5 separate regions of the Homo sapiens genome follow, and all the other regions are linked to region 1. The links are contacts of gene promoters, found by promoter capture Hi-C in blood cells and fetal thymus (Javierre and others, 2016). All regions are on one chromosome and are shown on one strand. Each heading gives the region's core, a stretch centred on a gene start or on the middle of the fragment in contact. The rest is flanking DNA. Distances are from core to core; before and after follow the strand shown.

Region 1 (2,700 bases), core at 10-2,509:
TTGACCATAGATAAGGTGCTCAGGACTCCTAGAGTCAGCTTCTGGTATGTGAGAAAGAAGTGAGAACAGAGCCCATGGCATATGAAGAAGATATTACAGAAAAAAGAAAGCTGCCTTCCACGCAAATCATTTCTTTACAAAGGCTTGTTAACTCCTGCAGTGCCCCAGCTCTAGTGACTAGGGGACCAATAGGTTCATTAATAACAGAATTGGGAGAGAACCTGGCATCTGCTTTGATCGAAGTGTGAGAATTAAGCAAGCCTAAAGTGTAGCAAGAGCAGGGAGGGAACTGAATGAAAGGTCAGTTCTAATCTGTAGGCTTTGGAGAAGCTTTGGGCTCTTGAGAGGGAGTAGAGTACAGAGGCTGAGCGGGGTGCCTGGGCAGGCATCTTATCATTACTTGCGAGTTGTGTGAACTCGGGCAAGTTAAACTTCTCTGTGCTTCTACTTTCTCCCCTGAAAACGAGGATATAATCTCCAAGGATTGTTGTGAGAACTAAATGACTTGGTTGATTCCTGAACAGCACGTTGTCCAGTGCCTAGCACATAGCAATCACTCAGGAAACGTCAGCCTTTATTATGGGCCTAGTGCACAAACTATTCTTACCAGTTATGCGACCTTGAGAACATTGTCTTCTCTGTGCCTTCATTTTCTCACCTGTAAAATGGAATAATAATAATTCTTAGAAGGATTCATGAAACAACGCCTAGTAGGGTGTCTGGCTTAGTTATCCCCCCGACAGTATTTTCTTCTAGTAAGAAGCTGAATGCAGCGGCAGACATCCTGGTTCGGGCCCCAGGAAGCTCAGCCGGGTTTAATGTGGATGAGGGTTTAATGATGTACACGCAGAAGTGTTTTGACAAATGAAGAAGGTCCTCATTCTTGGAACATGTGCCGGTTCTCCGAGGGAACTCCTAAAATGGCATAAGGTCACCTTTTTAAAGGCTGTAAGCTCATGTAGGAAAAGCTGAGCTAGATTCCTAAGGGCAGAGATGTGCTCACATTTCTTTGCATCCCTAGTTCCCAGCACAGTGCAAGGCGCTGCAAACATTTGCTGAACCCAGGGTCTCGTGTCTTGACTGTCCAGCAGAGGCCGCTCTGGGCCGGGGCTCTCGGGACCTGAGGGCTGAGAGAAGGAAGGCCAGGGGGTGGCCCAGTCATCGCCGCGGGGCCCGGGTGGGAGGGGTTTGGCAGCGGCAGGCGCGGCGGCGGCGGCGGAGGCGGAGGCGGCCCCGGGCTCGGGCGGCTGGGATGGAGCAGAAGAGCGCGGAGCACCGGAGGGCACGCAGCTGACGGAGCTGCGCTGCGTTCGCCTCGTTTGCCTCGCGCCCTCCACTGGAGCTGTTCGCGCCTCCCGGCTCCCACCGCAGCCCACCCGGCAGAGGAGTCGCTACCAGCGCCCAGTGCGCTCTGTCAGTCCGCAAACTCCTTGCCGCCCGCCCCGGGCTGGGCACCAAATACCAGGCTACCATGGTCTACAAGACTCTCTTCGCTCTTTGCATCTTAACTGCAGGTAATTGGCGCCATCCTCCCGGAAGGGCAGGTCGCGGGGTGGGCCCCAGTAGCTAGCGCGTGGTCGGGGCTGAAGCTAGGAGATCCGGCAGTGAGTCGCCGCGCGCCTCCGGGTGAGTGCGCAGGTGTGTGCGCACTTAGATTTGGGGTGACGTGCACCTTTGGCGGTCCCGAACCGTACTGAGGGAGGGGACGATGGGGTCCTTCCTGCCGCAGCCCGCGCCCGCACAAACTCCAGCTTTGTAGAACAGGTGGCTGTCTTAGCTGCGTGTTCGAACCCAGAGTGGGCAACACGGACTGCGCCTCAAGGCTTCTCTTTCTTCACCAGGGTTTCGGAGCGCACTCTGCCAAAGTACGGGACCAGACTTCTTGTTGCCGTTGGGCCCTGGAAGGGATGAAAAAGCCGGGGAAGTGGGGGTGGGAGGTTCGCATCTGGGAAGGCTTCAGCAGCGGCTGCGCGCCTGGCGGGGCTGGTTTGCTTTCTCGAGTCTTGGCGGTCTCTGATCTCCGGCGTCCCTTCCTAGTTATGCTTAGGATGATGTGGCACTAACAGCAGCGGCCCGGCCTTGGTCAGGCTCGCAATCGTCACTGGGGGTAGCAAGGCTACCTTCTGCCCCAGAACTCCCCAAAAACGTATCCCATAGAAGAAACTATTAACTTGGCTAAACTAGCATCCTCTCCCCTCCCCCTGCACCACCTCTGAAAGGCTTCGTAGGAGCCACTCTCGGGTTTCGGGACCACAGACGGCGACGACCTCTGGCAGCGGGGATGGGGAAGAGGGGAGCCAGATGACTGAGCTCGGCTTGGCGGGGACCGGGGAGAGATTCAGAAAGACGCTTTGAATCTAGAGTTCAGGTACCTATTTTTTCCAGAAAACGTCTCCCGAAAAGGGACAACTGGCTGTGGATATGGTGCTGCTGGGAAAAGTAGCCCGACTGCGCGGCCACTGGCATTTTCAGTTTAAATGTGACCCAAAGTCACATAGCGCAAACCGATTCTACTCGTGCTTTAGTCTGTATATCCTCCCTCTGAGTTCGTCGGGTTCCTACAGTTGTGGACACGAGTCGTCGCAATCCCTTGAAAAGAAGCTAGCGGTTTTCAGGCAGCTCACAGTGGGTAATGCAGTTATAAGGAAAAGTTTCCCAACTTGAAACTATAGCGTATTTTCTCTACTTAGTGAACGTCCG
Region 2 (2,700 bases), core at 134-2,633, 620 kb after region 1:
CCCTTTCACAGGCCAGGCACTGTGGTTGGAGCTGTATGTCAATTATCTCCTTGATATGAAACCAACTAAGTGGCCATCGACCAACGAGTGGATAAAGAAAATGTGGTAGAAATACACCATGGAATACTACTCAGCCATAAAAAAATGAAATAATGTCTTTTGCAGCAACTTGGATGGAGCTGGAGGCCATTATTCCAAGTTAAGTAACTCAGGAATGGAAAACCAAATATCGTATGTTCTCACTTATACGTGGGAGCTGAGCTATGAGGACACAAAGACATACAGAATGATATAATGGACTTTAGAGGCTAGGGGTGGGGGAGGTTGGGAAGGAGGTGAGGGATAAAAGACTACATATTGGGTGCAGTGTACACTGCTCGGGTGACGAGTGCACTAAAATCTCAGAGTTCGCCACCATAGAGTCCATCCATGTAACCCAAAACCACTCGTACCCCAAAAGATTGAAATTTAAAAAAAATTTTTTTTAAAAGCATCTCCTTAATTCACAAATTCCTCTGAGGGTAGTACCACAAGTCCCATTTTACAGGTGAGGCCCCTGAGGCTTCAGCAAGTCTCAGGGACTCACCACAGTCACTCAGCTAGTAAGAAAAGGAACAAAGACTGGAATTTTACCTGACTCCAAGGTCCATGTTCTTAATCACCTGTGACAATCCCCTCTCATATATCCAGCAGCTGATGAAGTCTTTCTCTCAGGAAACCAACTGGACATAGACATGTCATGTCCATTTTATATGCAATATGGTGAATCAGGAGGAGCCGTGAAAGGACGACTCACTAAGTTACTCTCCCAATGTTTATGTTTGTTTAGACAGTGACCATCATGACCACTAGGGAAGATCACTTTCTGATTCTGCTGCCCTCACCTCCTGGACAAAAGCAGAGCAGAGAAGCAGCATAAACCCTGGTTGGGGGCCTAAGAATGATCCCCAACTCTCCACTGCAAACCACCGGGGTCAGGAAGCCTCCGGGTAATGCCCTCTCCCTCTTGTTTCGCTTTTTAAGTAGGTAAGCTGCACAGAGAGAAGCACTGTTGCATATTTCTGGACAGCTTATTTCTCTTGCAGAGGAAGACTGATATACACAACTAAAAGGCACTAACATGGGAGAAGATTTGAGAGATTAGAAGGATGGTGAAGGTGCGGTTGTCCAAAATCCCCCTCTGGGGGGAGATGATTGATATCTGGCTGTCATTCCAAGAAGCTTCTGGTTGACAAATACTGTCTGGTATTTCCTTGCTGATTTCTTACCCTCACACCGCAAGCCCTGATCTCTGTGGTCCACTGTGCAAATGCAAATTACCTGAATCAGGCTGCTGGTGACTCACCAGCTCCCCTTTAAAGCAACATCAGGTTCAACGCAGTGACTGCTCAGTAGAAGCCATGGCTCGCAGACACTGCTTCTCCTACTGGTTACTGGTATGCTGGTTGGTGGTAACTGTGGCAGAAGGTAAGGGTTTTGCTTTTATTCTACTGTGGGTCCACTAATTAATAAGTTGTAGGAAAAGACAAAACTGGCTCCATGATTATACGTTCCCATAAATTGGAAATATTTACCTCAGCTTCCATCAGCCTGTGTGGTTAAAGAGAAGGAAGTTGGATTTTGTCACCTGAAGACCTTGGTCCTCGTCTCAGCAATAGCTCTGTGACTTTAGACACACTTAAAATCTCTGAGTATCAGATTCCTCATATGTGAAGTGACAACATTAACAATATCCATCGTTATGGGGTTTGCAAGGACCAAATGAGCTATCATCTGTGAAAAACTCTTCAAGCTAAAAACACTGTACAAATACTAGTTATTATGGTTACAAAGCTAACAATTCCACTTTGAATTACAGCACTGTCCACTTTCTATCTCCAGCAGCATATTAATTTGCACATGGTGGGTATTTAGTCTTTGTTCATTGCTTTAATTAATCACATCTATTGAGCTGCATTTTGGTGCCACAGAGGTGGGCACAGGTTTCTTTCTTTAGGATTTTATTAGATTCCATTTCTCAACTGTTCCTATTCTCTTTCTTTGTTCCCACTACAAAATGTGTCCTGAGCCTTACAATTGGTTTGCAAACCCCTAGGAAAAGGAAAGAAAAGGCTGGGGAAGGGATGAAAAGAGGGAAATACAAGGGGAGGAAATCTTGGGGAGCCTAGATCTAACCTTTTCTTCAGTTTATTTTAATTCCAAAACTAGATGCTGTTTACGGAAGATGGACCTAGGAGTCAAACAGAGCACTTCACCCCTTTCACATGTCTTGGGTAGGGGGCTTTGCAGGGGCTCAGCCAAACCCTGCTCATCCCCAGACAGATTCCCCGTTCCCATCCCTCAGAGCTCACAATAGACAGGAGGAGGGGAGAGACATAAGAGCTGGTTGTGGAACACTCAGAAACCCCCTGATCCAACCTCTGCACACACTCTGGCAATCAGGGGACAGGGCATAGATTATGAACAAAACCTGCCCCCATATCCCAAGGCAAGGCCCCCAAGCCTCACCTACTAAAAGTGACATCTAAAAGAAGCATCATAAAACAAAACTAGCCACCTGCCACTTTCTCTGCAAAAAGTGAACCGCTCTTCAGGAGGCTTTGTAAACACATAGCTAAACAAGTTATAATGAGATTAGAGATTTATTTTATTCACATCTTAAAAACACCCACTGAGGCTGGGTACAGTGGCTCACACCTG
Region 3 (2,700 bases), core at 118-2,617, 580 kb after region 1:
TCACAAGTCTGTTGGGCCTAAAAAAGAAACATAATTAAAAACTGCAATAAACTAAACATTTTGAGTTACCATTTGAATATCTAGAACTTATGTTCAACTATATGCAGTTTATTTTTATAAGTTTTGAAACACCTAAACCAAAGATATTGCTTATTCTAGAAGTTAAAGAAATCTTATTTATGATACTTTTGATTAAATTTTTTCAAACCACCTTAATACAGCTTTTAAAAAGAAAATAGAAATGTCATAAAATCTTACATGTTGAATTTTTTCACAGTTTATGCACTGCACTTCCTTCACTTTAAAGCGATCTAGTTGATGATCTTCATTGTTATCATGACACAAGCGGCAAGTATAAAGCTTGTCACAGCAAGGTGCCTAACACCCACGGAGAAAAAAGAGATATAGTAAGAAGCAAAAGAAACTAAGTGTGCAATACAAAAAGAAAATTTCTTCCTCCTCCTCCTGGATGGAACTGAAAGATTACAACCAATAGATCAGTTGCTAAACTGATCCTAAACATAACATTTCACTAGTTTCTTGGCATATTTTATGTTAATTCTTCCCTTCAACATCACTACGTCTGTATGAAGTTGAACACAACTTTAAAACAAAAGAATTATGAAGGAAATCCCTAGATTGAAACACTAATCCCACAACACCTGATATGCTTTGGCTGTGTTCCCACCCAAATCTCAACTTGAAATGTATCTCCCAGAATTCCCACGTGTTGTGGGAGGGACTTAGAAGGAGGTAACTGAATCATGGGGGCCAGACTCTCCCGTGCCATTCTCGTGATAATGAATAAAATCTCATGAGATCTGATGGGTTTATCAGGAGTTTCCACTTTTGCTTCTTCCTCATTTTCTATTGCCACCACCATGTAAGAAGTGCCTTTTGTCTCCCGCCATGATTCTCAGGCCTCCCTAGCCATGTGGAACTGTAAGTCCAATTAAACCTCTTTTTCTTCCCAGTCTTGGGTATGTCTTTATCAGCAGTGTGAAAACAGACTAATATAACACCCCAATTTCATTCTGAGCCTAAACAGCAAACAGGCAACCTCTTCTTAGACATTTCCAGATAAATTCATTTACATTAAAAATAATAAAGATTATATTCTTATTTTACTAGCTTTTATTAATCATCAACCTCATATCTAATATTGCACAAAATGCAACAAATGTAAGAGACAGCCCTTGTTTTCAAACACGGCAAAGACTGCCAGTTGTCCACCAAAATCTATCCTCTCCTTCCTGGGCACAATTGTTCAGCTATATCAGACAGATGGCCACATGCCCTAAAACATGACAAAATGATACAACAGAAAAATCTCATCCCTGGAGTGACCATGTGGAGCAAAGCCTCATCACCAACCTGCATCACTCGCCTTGGAATTGTTAAATGGAAAGAAATAAAACCTTTACTCTTTAATCTACATCACTGTTGGGTTTTTTCATTACAGCAACTTTACCATTACAAGTATATCAAGAGATTTCCAGGCCAGTGACTTTCCAATACACTGTGACCTTGCAGATCCACTCATTTCTGAAGGCTTCCTATGCCTTGACTTACCATAACGTAGTTCATTCCTTAAAGATTTTAACACTTAACTGGCTTCCTTTTTCTGCAACTCTCAGTTCCTTAACTTTGTCATTTCCAATAACCTTGTCCTCCAACCCACTATTCTCATAGTTATACCGCAGAACAGTAGTTCTCAAATGGTTTGGTCTCAGGATCCCTTCACACTTTTTAAAATTACTGAGAATCCCAAAGAGCTTTGGTTTATGTGGATTTTATCTATTGACATATACCACATCATAAATTAAAAAGAATAGGTTTTTAAAATATTACTTCTTTTTAAAAGTAACAAACTCATTACTTGTTAACATAAATAACATGTTTTAATGAAAAATAACTATATTTTTCCCCCCAAACAGCTGAATTCTTCTATCTGCTTATGCATTCAAACAGTTGTGGCTGAAGTACAAAAAGAAACTCTGGCCTCACACAAATATGTACACTGGAAAAGAAAGGAGTATTTTAATAGCCTTTTTGGAGAATTATGGATATCATTCTCTGATATTACACTAGAACAACAACTCTTAAAGGGTAGTTGCAACATGAAATCTGAAATCGTATCAAGGAATATGATTGATATGATGCCTCTTTTCTTCCTTGGTTACATTAAAATCTATTGCTCTATCTTGCACTTCAAATGGATGTTTTACTCATGCATTGGTCATCTGGAGAATACCAGTTCAGTGAGTTATTTACATCTTCTAAATGTTCACACATTTAACATGCAATATCAAAAAATCATATTCATTAAAAGTCTTTAGGTATTGAAGAAAATCTCACCAAAAAAAGTCTTTTAAAAAGCTTCCAACCTCACAAAAGCTAGTAAAAGTTTTCCAAAATTCTAATTTTTGTGTGAAAGCTTGAATTTTATCACTGGCAACAAATACTGTCATTTTCATTTGTAGTGAGTCTCACTTTTCTCCTTTTTGAGAAAATGTCTGCCAACTACCCAAATGTGAATGACTACAATTTTTTCAAGTAAAAAATGCTGTTCCATGAAAAAAAGCAACTAGTTCACTTTACAATCCAATTTGCACAAGAGCTTTTCCTCAAGACAACCCTCTAATTTCAGTTTGCAGAAGTGTTTGATCAAAACTTCCCATGTCATTGAACAGCATATTA
Region 4 (2,700 bases), core at 169-2,668, 520 kb after region 1:
GTCAAACATCAGACACCATGGCAGTTTCGATTCAATATAGTGTCACTCTTGCCATGCAACAGTCTGTTTTCCTACACTTCACCCCTTAACATTGGCCCTTACAATCTCACATACCTGCGTCTTTCACAATAGTCCCTGCACCAAGAGGGAGGGTGCTTAATGTTATATAGCTTTAATAGTGGTGCATTGGCAATGGAAAACAGAGCAGGCTCAGCAGGACTCCAAATGAAGGAGATTCACATGCTTTGTTGAATCATCTCTAGTCTTTGGAATACCATGGTTCTGGTTTCCTTGGAAGAAGAAAAACAATGAGAGATACATAACATTAGTAATGTGAATAGCAGAAATAAAATGCACACAAGGATTACAATCAAAGAGAGAAATTCTATGTCAGAATAGAAAGAAAGAAAACCTTATTCCATTAGGGAGCCAACTAAAAACATCATGAAGAAAATTAAAACCGGGTTCTTCTTTAGAGATTTATTGTAGCCAGGAAATAATCCAAGATTTAACCCAAATTGTAGATAAATAATAAAAACTTAAAAACAATGGTCAGGGTTAAAATCTAATAAGCAGGTGTGCTTATTAGATATGGTTTTGTTCTGAAACATAATTTTCCTCTCTTCAGTCCCCCTTTTCTACCAAAAAGAAATAGTAAGACCAATTTATTTGCAAAATAAATTTTAGACTTATTATACTTGACCTGATAATTTGCATAAAGTGCAAGAATAGCAATTGGCCATATAGGCTCCTTTAAATTTGCCTTTGCTGGAACTTTTTCATAAGGATTTTGAGATTAAACTTTTAAAAGCCTCTAGATGTTTAGAAGCCAAGCCAAGGATTTGCCATCCTGTAATGCCTGTATAAATTGGATGAATTCCTTTCTTCTCAAGGTCTCAAAATATCTTGAGGTTCCTGGGCCTGTCAGAAAGTTAACACTCTTTACTTACCACAAGGTCAGGAATCTTGTAAGGTCAGGAATCTTGTAAGTGAAGCATATAGACAAGGTACCGGGCCAGTTTTCCAAGGGGGTTCGTATTGGCTCTGTAAAGTCAACCTCAATTCCTCAAAACTGTTTGGTCATATCTGAAAATTACCAATGTTTCCAGTGTGTCCTATTATAAAAGAAAACATTCTTTTTTTAATTATTATTATACTTTAAGTTTTAGGGTACATGTGCACAATGTGCAGGTTAGTTACATATGTATACATGTGCCATGCTGGTGTGCTGCCCCCATTAACTCGTCATTTAGGATTAGGTGTATCTCCTAATGCTATCCCTCCCCTCTCCCCCTACCCCACAACAGTCCCCAGAGTGTGATGTTCCCCTTCCTGTGTCCATGTGTTCTCCTTGTTCAATTCCCATCTATGAGTGAGAACATGCGGTGTTTGGTTTTTTATCCTTGCGATAGTTTACTGAGAATGATGATTTCTAATTTCATCCATGTCCCTACAAAGAACATGAACTCATCATTTTTATGGCTGCATAGTATTCCATGGTGTATATGTGCCACATTTTCTTAATCCAGTCTATCATTGATGGACATTTGGATTGGTTCCAAGTTTTTGCTATTGTGAATAGTGCCGCAATAAACATACGTGTGCATGTGTCTTTTTAGCAGCATGATTTATAGTCCTTTGGGTATATACCCAGTAATGGGATGGCTGGGTCAAATGGTATTTCTAGTTCTAGATCCCTGAGGAATCGCCTCACTGACTTCCACAATGGTTGAACTAGTTTACAGTCCCACCAACAGTGTCAAAGTGTTCCTATTTCTCCACATCCTCTCCAGCACCTGTTGTTTCCTGACTTTTTAATGATTGCCATTCTAACTGGTGTGAGATGGTATCTCACTGTGGTTTTGATTTGCATTTCTCTGATGGCCAGTGATGATGAGCATTTTTTCATGTGTCTTTTGGCTGCATAAATGTCTTCTTTTGAGAAGTGTCTGTTCATATCCTTTGCCCACTTTTTGATGGGGTTGTTTGTTTTTTTCTTGTAAATTTGTTTGAGTTCATTGTAGATTCTGGATATTAGCCCTTTGTCAGATGAGTAGGTTATGAAAATTTTCTCCCATTTTGTAGATTGCCTGTTCACTCTGATCGTAGTTTCTTTTGCTATGCAGAAGCTCTTTAGTTTAATTAGATCCCATTTGTCAATTTTGGCTTTTGTACATTCTTACTGAAGTAATGCAAATAAATATATTGTTGTAAAAATAATAATATTCTTGAATAGTTTAGAAATTTTGGAGAAATTCGGTACAGAGAAAGGTAAATGTTTCCATTTTGCTCATAAAAGTATAATTTACCCAATGGCTGTAAGCAACTTCTCTTTTTTTACTGTAGGTAAAATTTTCTTTTGTTGTCATTGTTTGTTTTTTGTTTGTTTGTTTTGTTTTGTGTTGAGACGAGGTTTTACTCCTGTTGCCCAGTCTGGAGAGCAATGGTGTAATCTTGGCTTACTGCAACCTCCACCTCCTGGGCTCAAGCAATTCTCCTGCCTTAGCCTTCTGAGTAGCTGGGATTATAGGCGCATGCCACCCCGCCCAGCTGATTTTTGTATTTTCTGTAGTGACAGGTTTTTGCCATGTTGCCCAGGCTGGTCTCCAACTACTGAGCTTAAGCAATCCACCCACCTCGGCCTCCCAAAGTGCATGGATTACAGGCGTTAGCCACCACACCCAGCCATAAAGTTTTCTT
Region 5 (2,700 bases), core at 129-2,628, 650 kb after region 1:
CTTTTTAATATGCAGCCTATTAATGCTGATACCCTAGTTTTTTCAGCATGTTATCCATACTAATGTTGTCAAACAGCTGGTCACAGATTAAAAGTAGAGCTTTTAAATCAAGACCAATTTTAATTTAACCACCACCTATAGACTTGTACATTGAAACCCCTTATTTGCCTCCTCTTGAATGTCCTACTCTTTTGAGGCTTAAATATCCAAGGTCAGAATTTCAGTATTAAGCTCCTCAGAGTAATAAAGAAAAGTTCTAGTTAAATTCTTCAGCTAAGTTCTAGTCAATGGCTTTGGAAAAAAAGCAACACACTATTAATTAGTTAAGGCAAAAAAAAAAAAAAAACTCACAAATTCTGGTTCCCTAAACAACCATTCTCTAAAATGATAAATGCAGAGCATGTGTAGAAACCCAGAAATCAAGAACCTGTAGCCAACTTAGTTTATTCCTCCCACCTAAAAAGTTTTGGATCCATGCATTGGAAAAGATGTGTGGAATGCAGGTAAATGATTTTGCACCTTGGTGAAAAGCTTTTGAGACGGCCTGAGTGTTTGAGGCCACAAGGAGACAGGAACTTCTCTGGATTCTAGTATCACCCTTAAACTACCAGGGGACAAAAGTGGAGTCCATAATAATGAACGTTCTCTCCCCAAACCCTCTTCAGCTGGGTAGTTCAATAGCAATTGGTCCACAGAAGAGTAATCAGTCCTGATCAATTCTGTATGGAGCATTAGCACCAGAATCTTACAATACATGGAACTAACCAATGCCAGAGTTGTAGTAAGTCATTCGAAAGAGGTTTCTCTGTCACGCTTGCATTAGTGTGGTTCTTAGAAGATCTGCAGGGAGGCCAGAGTCTCATAATACACTGATAGAATATCAAAAATAATTACAGAAGTCAAAGATACACATCTACCCATGGACAGGAGTTACATATTCACTTAATATCTAGAAACGTGTAAGATTGTTAAGTGTGTTTTCATAGTTAAATTCAGGTAAAGCAAACAGTTTCTCTTACTGATCCTAGTTTCTTCAATTTTCTTCAACTGATCCTAATTTTTATCACCTACCCCCAAGAAACCCACTCCTAAATAAATGTACACATTTATACAGAAAACACACAAAGTTCAATGCATGAGTAACATGGCCTTTTATAGTATTTCTCTCTGTCCCCCTTTTTTACACACTTTTAATCATGGTAACTTAAAATATACAATCTCCTAACAGTAAATACACATTCATGTAACAAGAACCATATCACTGTTATTCCACTGGATATGTCTTGAAATAGCATCGGTGGACGTGAAAGGTAATGGGATAACAGTTGGGGAGGGCCATTTGTTCAATCTTCCTTTGAAACATTTGGAAGTCTTTGTCTTTCCTTCTTCTAGAAGGCCTTCCTCAGAAAATGCAGGCAGTTCAGAAGGAAATGATCAAAACCATGAATCTCTCCTCTTGGGATATCAGCACTCTTGCTGCAAGAAGATGTCATCTCAAGTGCAAGAGCATCATCTAAAAGCACAGGAGGATATACCACCAACTATTTTACAAAAAATCTTTCTAAAAATTAATTTCTATCTCACTTGCTTTCTCACATCGTATATATTGATAACATTGGTGGGTACTATGTAGTTTAAGAAAACCTTAGATTTCAATTAGATGTATCAAAAGCAAATTTTTAAGACAATCTTTAGAATAATTACCAATCAAAACTATCTTGCGTATGGCTGGGTGCAGTGGCTCACGCCTGTAATCCCAACACTTTGGGAGGCCGAGGCGGGCAGATCACCTGAGGTTGGGAGTTCAAGACCAGCCTGACCAACATGGAGAAACCCCATCTCTACTAAAAATACAAAAAAATTAGCCCGGCATGGTGGCCCATGCTTGTAATCCCAGCTACTCAGGAGGCTGAGGCAGGAGAATCACTTGAACCCGGGAGGTGGAGGTTGCAGTGAGCAGAGATCACGCCATTGCACTCCAGCCTGGGCAACAAGAGCGAAACTCCGTCTCAAAAAAAAGAAAAACTATCATGTGTAACACACATCTCCTTTTATGCAAATAATGACTAATTTTGACAAAATGCATCCAAGTTTTGCAGACCCTGTAGTTTACACGGTTTGTATGAATTAGTTGTTCATTGCTCAACATGAATTAACTCAAATGAATGCATTGCAAAGACTCTCCCACGGCCTTGAAAGGACCTGTGCAAATGAAAGATCAAAACTTAAGCTTTGTTCACTTCACAGTACATTCACCTTTGATGTCACAGATGCTCAAAATGCTTTGTAAAGGTTAACAGATTAATTCCAATAATACAGTTAGGGGCTGGGCATGGTGACTCATGACTGTAATCCCAGCACTTTGTGAGGCCAAGGTGGGCAGATCACCTGAGGTCAGGAGTTCAAGACCAGCCTAGCCAACATAGTGAAACCCCATCTCTACTAAATATACAAAAATTAGCTGGGCGTGGTGGCACACACCTGTGATCCCAGCTACTCAGGAGGCTGAGGCATGAGGATCACTTGGAGGTTGCAGTAAGCTGAGATTGTGCCACTGCACTCCAGCCTGGGAGACAGAGCAAGACACCGTCTCAAAAAAATAAATAAATACAGTTGTGAGAATGTGGGAATTTATCATCATAATATTTTACATAATGAGATATTAAACATTGAATGACTTGCTTGAGCAAATAAATTATC

What was found. Contacts are between HindIII fragments. The CHiCAGO score rates a contact against its expected background, and 5 or more counts as called.
Region 2: the fragment with the promoter of ODAPH here is called in contact with the fragment with the promoter of PARM1 in region 1 in 2 of 17 cell types (monocytes and M1 macrophages); the score reaches 5.2 in monocytes.
Region 3: a contact is called between a fragment that was not itself captured here and the fragment with the promoter of PARM1 in region 1, in 1 of 17 cell types (naive B cells). The highest score is 6.1, in naive B cells.
Region 4: a contact is called between a fragment that was not itself captured here and the fragment with the promoter of PARM1 in region 1, in 1 of 17 cell types (M0 macrophages). The highest score is 5.2, in M0 macrophages.
Region 5: a fragment that was not itself captured here is called in contact with the fragment with the promoter of PARM1 in region 1 in 2 of 17 cell types (endothelial precursors and megakaryocytes); the score reaches 6.9 in endothelial precursors.

What each region holds. Positions count from the first base shown.
Region 1 is chr4:74,931,857-74,934,556 of GRCh38, forward strand. It overlaps PARM1 (prostate androgen-regulated mucin-like protein 1), which reads left to right and starts at 1,260. Exons shown (of 4, transcript NM_015393.4): 1 at 1,260-1,514. The coding sequence starts at 1,472. RefSeq lists silencers at 1,094-1,403, 1,984-2,033 and an enhancer at 2,144-2,193. The HindIII fragment of the contact is 7,366 bases long and covers 329-2,700 here.
Region 2 is chr4:75,554,683-75,557,382 of GRCh38, forward strand. It overlaps ODAPH (odontogenesis associated phosphoprotein), which reads left to right and starts at 1,384. Exons shown (of 2, transcript NM_178497.5): 1 at 1,384-1,467. The coding sequence starts at 1,401. RefSeq lists a silencer at 1,117-1,411. The HindIII fragment of the contact is 3,725 bases long and covers 1,220-2,700 here.
Region 3 is chr4:75,508,919-75,511,618 of GRCh38, forward strand. It overlaps RCHY1 (ring finger and CHY zinc finger domain containing 1), which reads right to left. Exons shown (of 9, transcript NM_015436.4): 2 at 259-378; 3 at 1-17. Among named protein-coding and RNA genes, the nearest start is that of RCHY1, 4.1 kb to the right of the region's middle. The HindIII fragment of the contact is 2,019 bases long and covers 359-2,377 here.
Region 4 is chr4:75,454,741-75,457,440 of GRCh38, forward strand. It overlaps LOC107986230 (a long non-coding RNA gene), which reads right to left and starts at 1,126. Exons shown (of 3, transcript XR_001741514.2): 1 at 951-1,126; 2 at 115-290. The HindIII fragment of the contact is 3,146 bases long and covers 1-2,700 here.
Region 5 is chr4:75,577,666-75,580,365 of GRCh38, forward strand. It overlaps CDKL2 (cyclin dependent kinase like 2), which reads right to left. Exons shown (of 14, transcript NM_001330724.2): 14 at 1-1,513. Among named protein-coding and RNA genes, the nearest start is that of ODAPH, 23 kb to the left of the region's middle. The HindIII fragment of the contact is 1,699 bases long and covers 530-2,228 here.